Linked DNA regions of Homo sapiens: all the other regions are linked to region 2. Evidence: promoter capture Hi-C in human tissues and cell types (Jung and others, 2019). All regions are on one chromosome and are shown on one strand. Each heading gives the region's core, a stretch centred on a gene start or on the middle of the fragment in contact. The rest is flanking DNA. Distances are from core to core; before and after follow the strand shown. Region 1 has its middle 15 kb from the start of EPCIP. Region 2 holds the start of GART (phosphoribosylglycinamide formyltransferase, phosphoribosylglycinamide synthetase, phosphoribosylaminoimidazole synthetase). Region 3 overlaps PAXBP1 (PAX3 and PAX7 binding protein 1).

Region 1 (3,780 bases), core at 797-3,296, 710 kb after region 2:
CCTGACTCACACCAAAGATGAAAATCAATTCCAGACAGATCATAGATTAAATGTATTGGGTTAAACCATATGAAACTCCTATTTTTTATGTTGACTATTAGTAATTTCATATGGTTTAACTTAATAAAACAGTAAAACTTTTGTGATAGAGCATGGGAAAATATTTTCATGAAACTGAAGTAGCCAAAGGTCTATTTAACCAACACAAAAAATGTGATAATCATAGAGAAAAAATAAGTAAATTAAAACACATTAATATTAAAAACTTTCGGCCAGGCGCAGCAGCTCATGCCTGTAATCCCAGCACTTTGGGAGGCCAAGGGAGGTGGATCACCTGAGGTCGGGAGTTTGAGACCATCCTGACCAACATGGAAAAACTCCATCTCTACTAAAAACACAAAATTAGCCGAGCATGATGGCGCACGCCTGTAATCCTAGCTACTCAGGAGGCTGAGGCAGGAGAATCACTTGAACCTGGGAGGCAGAGTTTGTGGTGAGCTGAGATCACTCCATTGCACTCCACCCCAGGCAACAAGAGTGAAACTCTGTCTCAAAAAATAAAAAAGATTAAAAACTTTTGTTCATCAAAAGACAGTGTTAAGAGTGAAAAGTTAAGCCACAGAGTGGGAGAATATATTTAAAATACATGTATTCAACAAAGGACTCATTCAGATTATATAACGAACTCCTACAAAGCGATTTGTATTAAATGTCAGACAACCCAAAAGAAAAAAATGGGCAGAATTATGAGCAATTATGTCACCACACAAAGAAGATAGCCTTCAAATAGTTATCAAGAAAATGTCACCTAGGACCACAATTGTGTACACAAGAATGACTAAAGGGAAGAAGACACTATCAAGTGTGGGCAAGAGTGAGGAACAACGGGGACCCTCATATACTACTGGTCGGGGTGTAAAATGGCCCACCCACCTTAGAAAACTGTCAGGCGACATCTACTAAAGCAGAAACATATGTGTAGTCTGTGACCCAGCAATTTCAATCTTGGATGTATACTCAACAGAAATGTATATACATGTTCACCAAAACACATTTAGGAGAATGTTCATGGCTTCACTATTTATAATAGTAAAAGAACTGGATACAACCCACATGCCCATCTATAGTAGAATGGGACTAGGTACAGTGGCTCACGCCTATAATCCCAGCACTTTAGGAGGCCAAGGCAGAAGGATCGCTTGAGCCCAGGAGTTCAAGATTAGCCTGGGCAACATAGTGAGATCCCACTCTACAAAATAATTTTTTTTTAAAGATGAAAAATTAGCTGGGCATGTTGGCATATTCTTGTAGTCCCAGCTACTCAGGAGGTTGAGGTGGTAGGAACCCTTAAGCCCAGAAGTTGGAGGATACAGTGAACCATGATTGTGCCACTGCACTCTAGCCTGGGTGACAGACCAAGATCCTGTCTCAAACATTAAAAAAAATAAAATTAAAATAGTAGAATGGGTAAATAAATTGTGTAATATCCACACTTAGAATAATATTCAACAGTCAGTGAGAGCGAATCATCTGTAACTGTCTAAGACTACTCAGGCCCTATAACAAAACATCACCTATTGGATGACTTATAAAAACAGACATTTATTCCTCATGGTTCTAAAGGCTGGAAGTTCAAGATCAAGGTGCCAGCAGATTTGATGTCTGGTGAGGGGCACTTTCTGGTTCATAGATGGTGCCTTCTTGCTGTGTCCTCACATGATGGAAGAGAGAAAACGCTGGTCTCTCAGCTTCTTCTAAGGGCACTAAGTCCCATTCCTGAAGGCTCTACCCTTATGACGTAATCGCCTTCCAAAGGCCCTGCTTTCTAATACCATCGTCTCAAGAGTTAGAATTTCAACCTGTGAATTTTCAGACCAAAGCAAGAATATAAAGCACTCAAAAACAACCTCAGATATATATATAGAGAGAGAAAGAGAGACATTTTATATTTGCATATCAATAAATAGAACTGGGAAAATTAGTTTTTCATATAAAAAGTTATACCTAAATCATGCCATACTCAAAATTAATTATAGATAGATTTAAAACTCCAATGTGAAAAGGAAAGCTTTAAAACTTTGGGAAGAAAATATCAAAAATATCTTTATAAATTCAGAATAGTGAAGGACTCTGGGGCCAGGCTATCTGGGTTCCAGTCTCAGCTCTATGACTTACTAGCTGTGTGAGCTTGGACAGTTTCTCCCTACTCTTTACTTTCCACGTATGAAAAATAAGGAGAATAATGGCACCTTCTCACAGGGTCATTGAGAGGATTAAATGAATAATATGCATAAACTGTTTAAAATACTGACTGACACTTATTAAGTGCTATATGGGTTTTTGTTGTTTTATGAGTAGTACTGGTAGTTGTTATAAGGGACAGATACTTTCCAGTTGGAAGATATATGTTTTTAAAAGTTCAGAAAGTCTAGTAATTAAGGGAAGAAATGGATAATCAATATTGAAAGATAGCAAAAAAGAAAAATATAATAAAGAAAGGACAAATTAAGAATTTGTGAGCCCCTCATGTAAAAAACCAGACTAATGTAAATAAGCTGAATTACTCTATTAATCATTTAATCTGTGTATGTCTCCCCCACTGACCCCCAAGCTGTCCCTAACCAAGAATACCATGGGATTGTGTTCTTGTCTGCTTTCTTCCTGCTGTACTTCCACATTCTGAAATGCATTCCACAGGCAGGTGCATCTTGGGTTTCCAATAAAAATCAACCGACCAAGGGGGCGGAATCTCCAGGCTTGAACCCTCAAATACAGACAGGATTATGTGTTCTTTTTCTATTGGGAGGCATAGTTTTCTGGTAGGATACTGGCAAATCAGAAACAGCAAAACAGAGTCTTCTCAGGAGTTCAATAGACTTTGCAGCAAGACTCTTTTATATGCTCAAAATTTAAAATCATTCATGCACTTCTTCATTTTTAAAAAATAGTCTTTTAAGTTTATAGTATTTTCTTATGTTTTTCCAATATTGAAAAACTGCAATGTACAGTATTCTTATTCTCCTGCCAAAACAAATAGCATATTATTGCAGCTGTAACATTTTATGTCTTTGCCACAATAACTGTGGTTTTCCGCAGTAATTTTGCTATTATGCTATGATTTTTATTAGAAAATGTATTACTGCCATCTTAATTTTCTTAGCCAGTTTAACACATTTATGGCTTTTCTGCTTTGGCAAAGTGGTATTTCAAATACTGAAGAATAACTTTTTTAAATTCTATAAATCCTGGATGAAATTTAAACCATAAATTTCATTTCTGAATAATCAAATCAGAACATTACTGCAACTGTGTCATCGCCTAAAGCCAGTAATATTCCATGAGTTTGTAATAACATTATTTTGAGCAAGTCACACAAGGGGTAGTTTAGTGATCTGAAATGTCCAGGGTTTGCTATTTTTTCCCCAATAGTCCTTTTTTTTTTTTCTAAGATGGAGTCTCACTCTGTTTCCCAGGCTGAAGTGCAGTGGCATGATCTCAGCTCACTGCAAACTTCGCCTCCCGGGTTCAAGCTATTCTCCTGCCTCAGCCTCCCAAGTAGCTGGGATTACAGGCTCCTGCCACCACACGCAGCTAATTTATGTATTTTTAGTAGAAGACGGGTTTTCACCATGTTGACCAGGCTGGTCTTGAACTCCTGACCTCATGATCTGCCCTCCTCAGCCTCCCAAAGTGCTGGGAGGCGCAAAGTGCAGGCGTGAGCCACCATGCCCAGCCTCTTCCCCAATATTCTTGAAGAGATTTATAACAACACCGAATCTC
Region 2 (3,671 bases), core at 697-3,196:
TTTAAAGAAATGAGTATCTTATACAAAAGCAAATATCGAGAGACAACCGCTGAACATGACACACTATTTTCCTAAGTAAACAACCATTTCTTTAACAATCTCTTCGCCTTCAAATTTTGTGAAGCCAAGCGCAAATTATGTAAAGTCTACCAGCAATGACAAAAATAGCGTGTCAACTGGGGCAGGGGTAGCAAGAAAATAATAGACCTACACACAAAGTCCACTTTCACTTGCTGTAATTAATCGCAACCATTTCAAAGTCCCCTTCCATCTTTATCTCGAGTATTTTAACAAACTAGCAAGTGCATCAGTTTGAGTTCGTTTTAATTGAAACATTTAACTATCAGAACGGCTGACAGATACTACAGGACACTAGGCCCCGAATAATCTTATTAATAGATCCAGACCCCCAAGCGGTCTGAAGCTCGCAATAATAAAGAGGATTTAAGATTAACCAAGAAACGGCCGTTAGAGACCCTTTCCGGTCATAGGCACCGGCCGGCAAAATCCGCGGAGGCGAGAGGGGGAGGGGATACGCGGCGGCGGAGGAGGAGCTGAGGAAGGAACTAGGCCCGTCCCTGGCGGACAACCGGGCCTACGAGTAGCTAAACGGCAGGGGGGACCCAAACAGGGGAGAAGGGTGAACATCTTAACTCGGTTCTGAAACAGGGAGTCTTGGGTTACCTCGGAAAAGGCGAAGTTCCTCGAGGGAAAAGGAAGGGAGCGGCTGGGGGGGCGGTTGGGGGGGGCCCGGAAAATGGATCCCAGGCCCAGGCGGGGCCCTAGCGGGGCCTGAGCCGGGGAACGACTGCGTCTCCGAAGAAAGGTGCCAAAGAAGGCTAGGTGAGGGCCTAACGGTCCGTTGGGAGCAGAAGAATCTGGGAGGCGTTTACCTGGAAAGCTCCTGTTGAATTTCCCGGAATTTACTGACCACGAAAGACCTAAAAATCTGCTCGATGTTGGTCGCCATGGCGTCCGCTCCGTTCTCTCAACTCCTCCTCGCTAGTCCTCCAGGCTCCCAGCATGCCTCGGGAGGAGGCGCACGGGCCAATTCGGTCTCTCGCCTTCCTGATTGGCTCCAAAGGGAATGCCCGGTCCGGCCCGCTCCACCGAGGGACCAATCAGTGAGCACGGCCCTGCTCTCCTCTGCTGTTTCTGAGCGGCTGGGGTAGAGGTGCTGACGTTTGCGCCGCGCACGACTATGTCCGCCATGTTAGTGTCTGACGCAGGCGCCATTACAGGAGCCGTCTCTCTTGAGGCGACCGTGTCCGCATAAGTTGTCAGTCCCCAGCAGTGTTTGGGAGCCTTAACAGGCTTGCTAAGTGCCTGAGATTAAAGGCGAAGAGGAAGAAGAGCAAGAAGGGCAACCCGGTGTTTAACACACGGCTTTCAGGCGCTCTCAGGTGGCGCCAAGTTCAGTTTCGACAGGGATATGCATCCGGGAGAGAATTTTTCAGCCCCCGCCCCCACTGGCATGTGAGAGGAGGAACTCGCTGTTGCCCTGTGTCTTCCCCAGTGCGTTCTATAACCAGCCTCATTTTTTTTTTTAGCAATAGGCCGGATGTCCTAAGCGACCGGCATTCAAAGCCCGGTGCATTTTAGTCTCATCAGGAGTCAGGCGTGTCACGAGATTTTTCCGCGGTAGCTGCTCAGCTCTGACTCGTGAGCGGCGCACAATTGGCTAAGAATGGGTTTAGCATTTTGGCGCTCCCCCCCGGCGCTCCTGGAAACACTGCGTGGCACCCCGTACCACTGTCACATTATAAACGTGCTAAGGCTTGGGTGTCTCGGCTGGGGAGCAGTCAGGCAGCGCCCAGGGCGGGAGGGAATCAGACTAGATTCTCGCCGCGGAGACCCAGGGCCGCGCGGACCAATGGGGCAGGGAAGCCGTCGTAGGGCGGGGCAGTGAGGGGCGGTGCCGCGCTGGTCCCGCGCCGGTCCCGGTGGGCCGACTTCCGGCGAGCGGGCAAGCGGGAACCAGGTGGCCACCCGGTGTCGGTGCGTAAACCCCCTCCGCTTTTACACGGAGCGCGCTTAGGCTTTGGTTTGGGGATTTAAGATCGCGAACTGAGTGAAACCATAGAAACTGATTTGTAGAAATTTTCCTGTTGTTTGTAAATGCGGTGGGTGGGGGTTGGCCATGTGCTTTTCACTTGCTACTGTTAGCTGGTTTCTATTTGCTCTTTTACTTTTCCTGTTTTCTAAGATGTCAAGGCCTTTTTGTGTCTTTATACATTTTTAGGACATAACCCTAAATTGGTGTACTTTCTCTTTATGCACCCGTTGTCTCTGGCAGATTACTTGGTTAATTTTGTAGTTGGTTTCTACTTTATTCTCCATATCCTCTGATACGGCTTTATTTGCCTGTCTTATTCTGCTTATGTTACCCATTCTGAGGAATGAGGCCCAAGGTTAGTGAAGTCCCCCAAGGTCTTCCTGCTAGTATGGGGCAGCGTCTCTACCCAGGCCAAGGCGCTGTGTGAGACTCAGGAGCCCAGGCGTCCTCACCACTGGGTAGTAAGGCTATTTTCAGTGATCCACTAGAGTAAACAGAATTTTCCCACACTACTGCTATATTCAAACTAAAGATGTAACATTTGCTCTAGATTTAAAGATCTGTTTATTTCTGGCCGGATGTGATGTAATCCCAGCACTTGGGAGGCCAAGGTGGGTTGACCATTGGAGGTCAGGAGTTCGAGACCAGCCTGGCCAACGTAGTGAAACCCCGTCGCTACTAAAAATACAAAAATTCGCCTGGCGTGGCGGCGCACGCCCGTAATCCCAGCTACTTGGGAGGCTGTGAGGCAAGAGAATCGCTTGAACCCGGGAGGCGGAGGTTGTAGTGAGCTGAGATCACACCACTGCCCTCCAGCCTGGGCGACAGAGAGAGACTGTCTAAACAAATAAATAAATAAATAAAATAAAAAATCTGTTTATTTCAGATACACATGGCAAGTAAAATGTGTTTTCCCGTTACACTAAAGTAGCTGTTCCTTCCGAGACTGTAATTTAACAGGGTTTTTTTTTTTCCTTTCTCAAATTTTCAATGATCATCGTTTCACTTGTTGAGAGAATCTGAAGCAAAATTGCTTCTGTTAGGCTCCACCCCCTCTTACCTGTGTGACCTCCAGCAAGTTATTTACCTATCTGGGCCTCCTTGTCTTATCTGCAAATTGGTGATAGTAATAGTATCTCCCTCATAGGATTCTTTCATGACAAGCATTTTAAATAGTACCCTGCCCAAGGTTAAGTGCTCAAAAAAATGTTAGTTTTGTATATTGTCAGCTTACATTTTTCTTAAAATATGTAATCCCAACATCATCAAAATAAGTTTTCAATTTTCTTTTTCCTGTTACCAGTTTGTCTTGTGGTAAGTAAATGTAACAAGTTAACATTTACTACTGCTGAGTGCCAGATTGTACTTATTTATAAATGTCATTTCAGTTAATCTCCTAGGTTACACTGCTGTTGTATCCATCCTTCTAAGTCTCAGGTGCCAGAACTAAAGTGAAATGAGTTGGAATTTGATTTTTGCCTTCTCTACCAATATTCTAGCATATTGCGCTATTTGAATTAGGAGTCAGCAAACTATGGCCCACATACCAAATCCTTCTGCTGCCTGCTTTTGTACAGCTCACCAAATATGAATGATTGAGAAAAAGAACAGGAAA
Region 3 (3,578 bases), core at 1,032-3,531, 800 kb after region 2:
TGCACAGCTGTTAATCTGTGCAGTGATCTGTGAACTAAAAAGCTAGCGGCACAATTACTTATGGCTAATACACCGTAGTAACTGAAATTTGAACCATCTTGTTTGGGAACAGGTTTTATTTAGCCAAACTGTGGTAGAAAAATTGTATATACTGGAACTGCAAAACAAGGACTGGCTGCACTTTAGTTTACATAATAGACAAATTGAAACTTCAATTTATTTTTTTCTTCTAAATTGTGACTAACAATTGGCCCTTTGTTAATGAGCGTATCTTCTGATACTGAAGCTACAAAGAAAACACTGAAAATATTGGACTGTTTTTTTCCTACTTCATACTAATGTATGGTTCTCTGTGGGGTTTTGTTGTTTTTAGATCGAATTTCAAAAGAATCCGGCAAAGTTTTTGAAGATGTCCTTGAAAGTTTCTATTCAATTGACTGTATTAAATCACAGTTTGAAGCATGGCGTTCAAAATACTACACATCCTACAAAGATGCTTACATTGGCCTTTGTTTGCCAAAATTATTCAACCCCCTCATACGACTTCAGCTCCTCACTTGGACTCCTCTTGAGGTGAGTGGCTTCTGTCACTATTAGAAAGTGTTATAATTTGATATCTGGGTAATTTTAATCTCAAAGCTAGAGATGTAAGCTTAAGCAAAATATTTTGCAGGGGTGATAGGGCATAGGCTATAATTGATAGATTGTATCTGGTTATAATCTTATGATCTTTCCTTTTAAGTTTCATGTCTTCCCAGCAGAGCTATGTGTTTTTTTTGTTGTTGTTGTTGTTTTTTCAGTTTACATATAATCCTTTTTTCAGCCAGCTGAAATTATATGCAGTAACACTGGGATATGAACATGAATAGTAAGAACTTGGTCCTTTGATCCTAGAGGAACTCAGAACCAGATGGGAAAGCACAATGAGGCAGGTGTGAAATGAGGACATGACCCAAGTCAGTTGTCATGGTGAGAAAAATTGATAGGCCAGGCATGGTGGCTCATGCTTGTAATCCCAACAGTTTGGGAGGCCAAGGCGGGAGGATTGTTTGAGCTCAGGAGTTCAAGACCAGCCTGGGCAACATAGCAAGACCTTGTCTCTACTTAAAAAAAAAAAAAAAAAATTAGCTGTGGTGGCATGTGCTCATATTCCTAGCTACTTCGGGGGCTGAGGCAGGATTGCTTGAGCCCGGGAGATCAAGGCTGTAATGAGCTATGATTGTGCCACTGCACTGCAGCCTGGGTGATAGAACAAGACCTGCCACAAGAAAAAAAAAAAAAGATAAGGAGGTGGAATCAAGAGGACCTATTGGCCTGTCATATAAGGGAGGGGGCTAGAATTGACTCTGGAGGTCTAGTGGTGATGTTTACAATGTGGTTTTAGAAGTTACCAACGTGGGTGAAGCTGTAGACATGGTTGAGATTGGCTAGGTTGAATTTGTGAACTATAAGGAAAAGGGAGCTGAGGTTGATGCCATGGAAACACAACTGAAAAAAATGTGAGCTCTGAGAAGCATTCAGCTCACAGCTCCTATTTCCTGTGTGCTCTTGGCCAGACCTTCTGAAGTTTTGCTGTGTGCATGAGTGTCTTGGTAGATAGCAAAGGCCCAAGACTGTATTTTGGAGTTATTTTTCTGTGTCCCCCACTCCTCTGCCCCACAGTTTCCAGCTGTGTCAGCCTTCCTGAGCTCCACCCTCTGTCTCCTCCACTCAGCAAAACTGCTCTGCTGTCCTGAACTAGCATCTCACCTCATTTGATTCCTTTCTTTAAAGGGTCATAGTCTTGTGCTGCCTATGGTCCATTGTATTTTGTCCAGTTCTTTTTTATTTTCTTTGGCTTTTAAGTTCCAGGGTACATGTGCAGATTTGTTACATAGGTAAACATGTGACATGGTGGTTTACAGCACAGATCAACCCATCACCTTGGTAGGAAGCCTAGCATCCAGTAGCTGTTGTTGCTCTCCCTCCCCCAAGTCCCCACCCCCACCCCCCAACAGGCCTCAGTGTGTGTTTTTCCCCAGTATGTGTCCATATATTCTCATTGTTCAGCTCCCACTTGCGAGAACATGTGGTGCTTGGGTTTCTGTTCCTGCGTTAGTTTGCTGAGGATAATGGCTTCTAGCTCCATCCATGTCCCTGCAAAGGACATGACCTCGTTCCTTTTTATGGCTGCATAGTATTCCATGGTGTATATGTATAACATTTTCTTTATCCAGTCTATAATTGATGGGCATTTGGGTTGATTCCATGTCTTTGCTATTGTGAATAGTGCTGCAGTGAACATACATATGCATGTAGCTTTATAATAGAATGATTTATATTTCTGTAGGTATATACCCAGTAATGGGATTGCTGGGTCAAATGGCATTTCTGCTTCTAGATCTGTGAGGAATTGGCACACTGTCTTCCTTACACTCCCACCAATAGTGTAAAAGTGTTCCTTTTTCTCTGAAACCTTACCAGCATCTTTTGTTTCTGGACTTTTAAATAATTCCCATTCTGATTGGCATGGGATGGTATCTCATTGTGGTTTAGATTTGCATTTCTCCAATCATCGGTGATGTTGAGCTTTTTTTCATGTTTGTTGGCTACATGAATGTCTTCTTTTGAGAAGTATCTGTTCATGTCCTTTGCCCACTTTTAATGGGGTTGTTTTTTTCCTATAAAGTTTCCTGTAGACTCTGGATATTAGACCTTTGTCAGATGGATAGATTGCAAGAATTTTCTCCCATTCTGTAGGTTGTCTGTTCACTCTGATAATAGTTTCTTTTGCTGCGTAGAAGCTCTTTAGTTGAATTAGATACCATTTGTCAATTTTTGCTTTTGTTGCAGTTGCTTTTGGTGTTTTTGTCGTGAAATCTTTGCCCATGCCGATGTCTTGAATGGTATTGCCTAGATTTTCTTCTAGGATTTTTATAGTTTTGGGGTTTACATTTAAGTCTTTAATCCATCTTGACTTAACTTTTGTATATGGTGTAAGGAAGGAGCCCAGTTTCAATTTTCTGTATATGGCTAGCCAATTCTCCCAACACCATTTATTAAACAGGGAATCTTTTCCCCATTGCTTGTTCGTGTCAGGTTTGTCGGAGATCAGATGGTTGTAGGTGTGCGGTCTTATTGCTGAGTTCTCTATTCTGTTCCATTGGTCTATGTGTCTGTTTTTGTATCAGTACCATGCTGTTTTGGTTACTGTGGCCTTATAGTTTGAAGTCTGGTAGCATGATATCTCCAGCCGTCCAGTTTTTAGTTGTTTGCAACCAAAGGTTAAATCCAGTTCTTGTTTCTCTTATCATAGCTGGAAGCAGAAATAGCCACTATTTTAGTATTTGGGTAACCTTTTAAATGTCTTTTAGGCAAAATGTCGTGACTTTGAGAATATGCTGTGGTTTGAATCTTTGCTGTTTTATGGTTGTGAAGAACGAGAGCAAGAAAAAGATGATGTAGATGTTGCCCTACTACCTACCATTGTGGAAAAGGTGATTCTTCCTAAACTAACAGGTAAATCTCCTGTTCTCTGAATTGAGCATTCAGACACACTGGCTTTCTCAAATCTATTTTTATGAGTTTATAATTCAGAG

The links. The method cuts DNA at HindIII sites, captures the fragments that hold promoters and counts their contacts. A contact is called where the count stands out against the background at its distance.
Region 1: a contact is called between a fragment that was not itself captured here and the fragment with the promoter of GART in region 2, in 1 of the 25 tissues and cell types used here (dorsolateral prefrontal cortex).
Region 3: a fragment that was not itself captured here is called in contact with the fragment with the promoter of GART in region 2 in 2 of the 25 tissues and cell types used here (dorsolateral prefrontal cortex and spleen).

Annotation. Positions count from the first base shown.
Region 1 is chr21:32,827,120-32,830,899 of GRCh38, reverse strand. No RefSeq gene overlaps it. Among named protein-coding and RNA genes, the nearest start is that of EPCIP, 15 kb to the right of the region's middle. The HindIII fragment of the contact is 3,476 bases long and covers 309-3,780 here.
Region 2 is chr21:33,540,392-33,544,062 of GRCh38, reverse strand. It overlaps GART (phosphoribosylglycinamide formyltransferase, phosphoribosylglycinamide synthetase, phosphoribosylaminoimidazole synthetase), which reads left to right and starts at 1,946. Exons shown (of 22, transcript NM_000819.5): 1 at 1,946-1,998. SON (SON DNA and RNA binding protein) reads right to left here and starts at 1,025. Exons shown (of 12, transcript NM_138927.4): 1 at 894-1,025. The coding sequence starts at 970. RefSeq lists silencers at 651-740, 1,781-2,070 and enhancers at 921-980, 885-1,616, 1,181-1,630. The HindIII fragment of the contact is 11,246 bases long and covers 1-3,671 here.
Region 3 is chr21:32,745,494-32,749,071 of GRCh38, reverse strand. It overlaps PAXBP1 (PAX3 and PAX7 binding protein 1), which reads left to right. Exons shown (of 18, transcript NM_016631.4): 11 at 374-573; 12 at 3,354-3,498. Among named protein-coding and RNA genes, the nearest start is that of PAXBP1-AS1, 19 kb to the right of the region's middle. The HindIII fragment of the contact is 5,225 bases long and covers 1-3,578 here.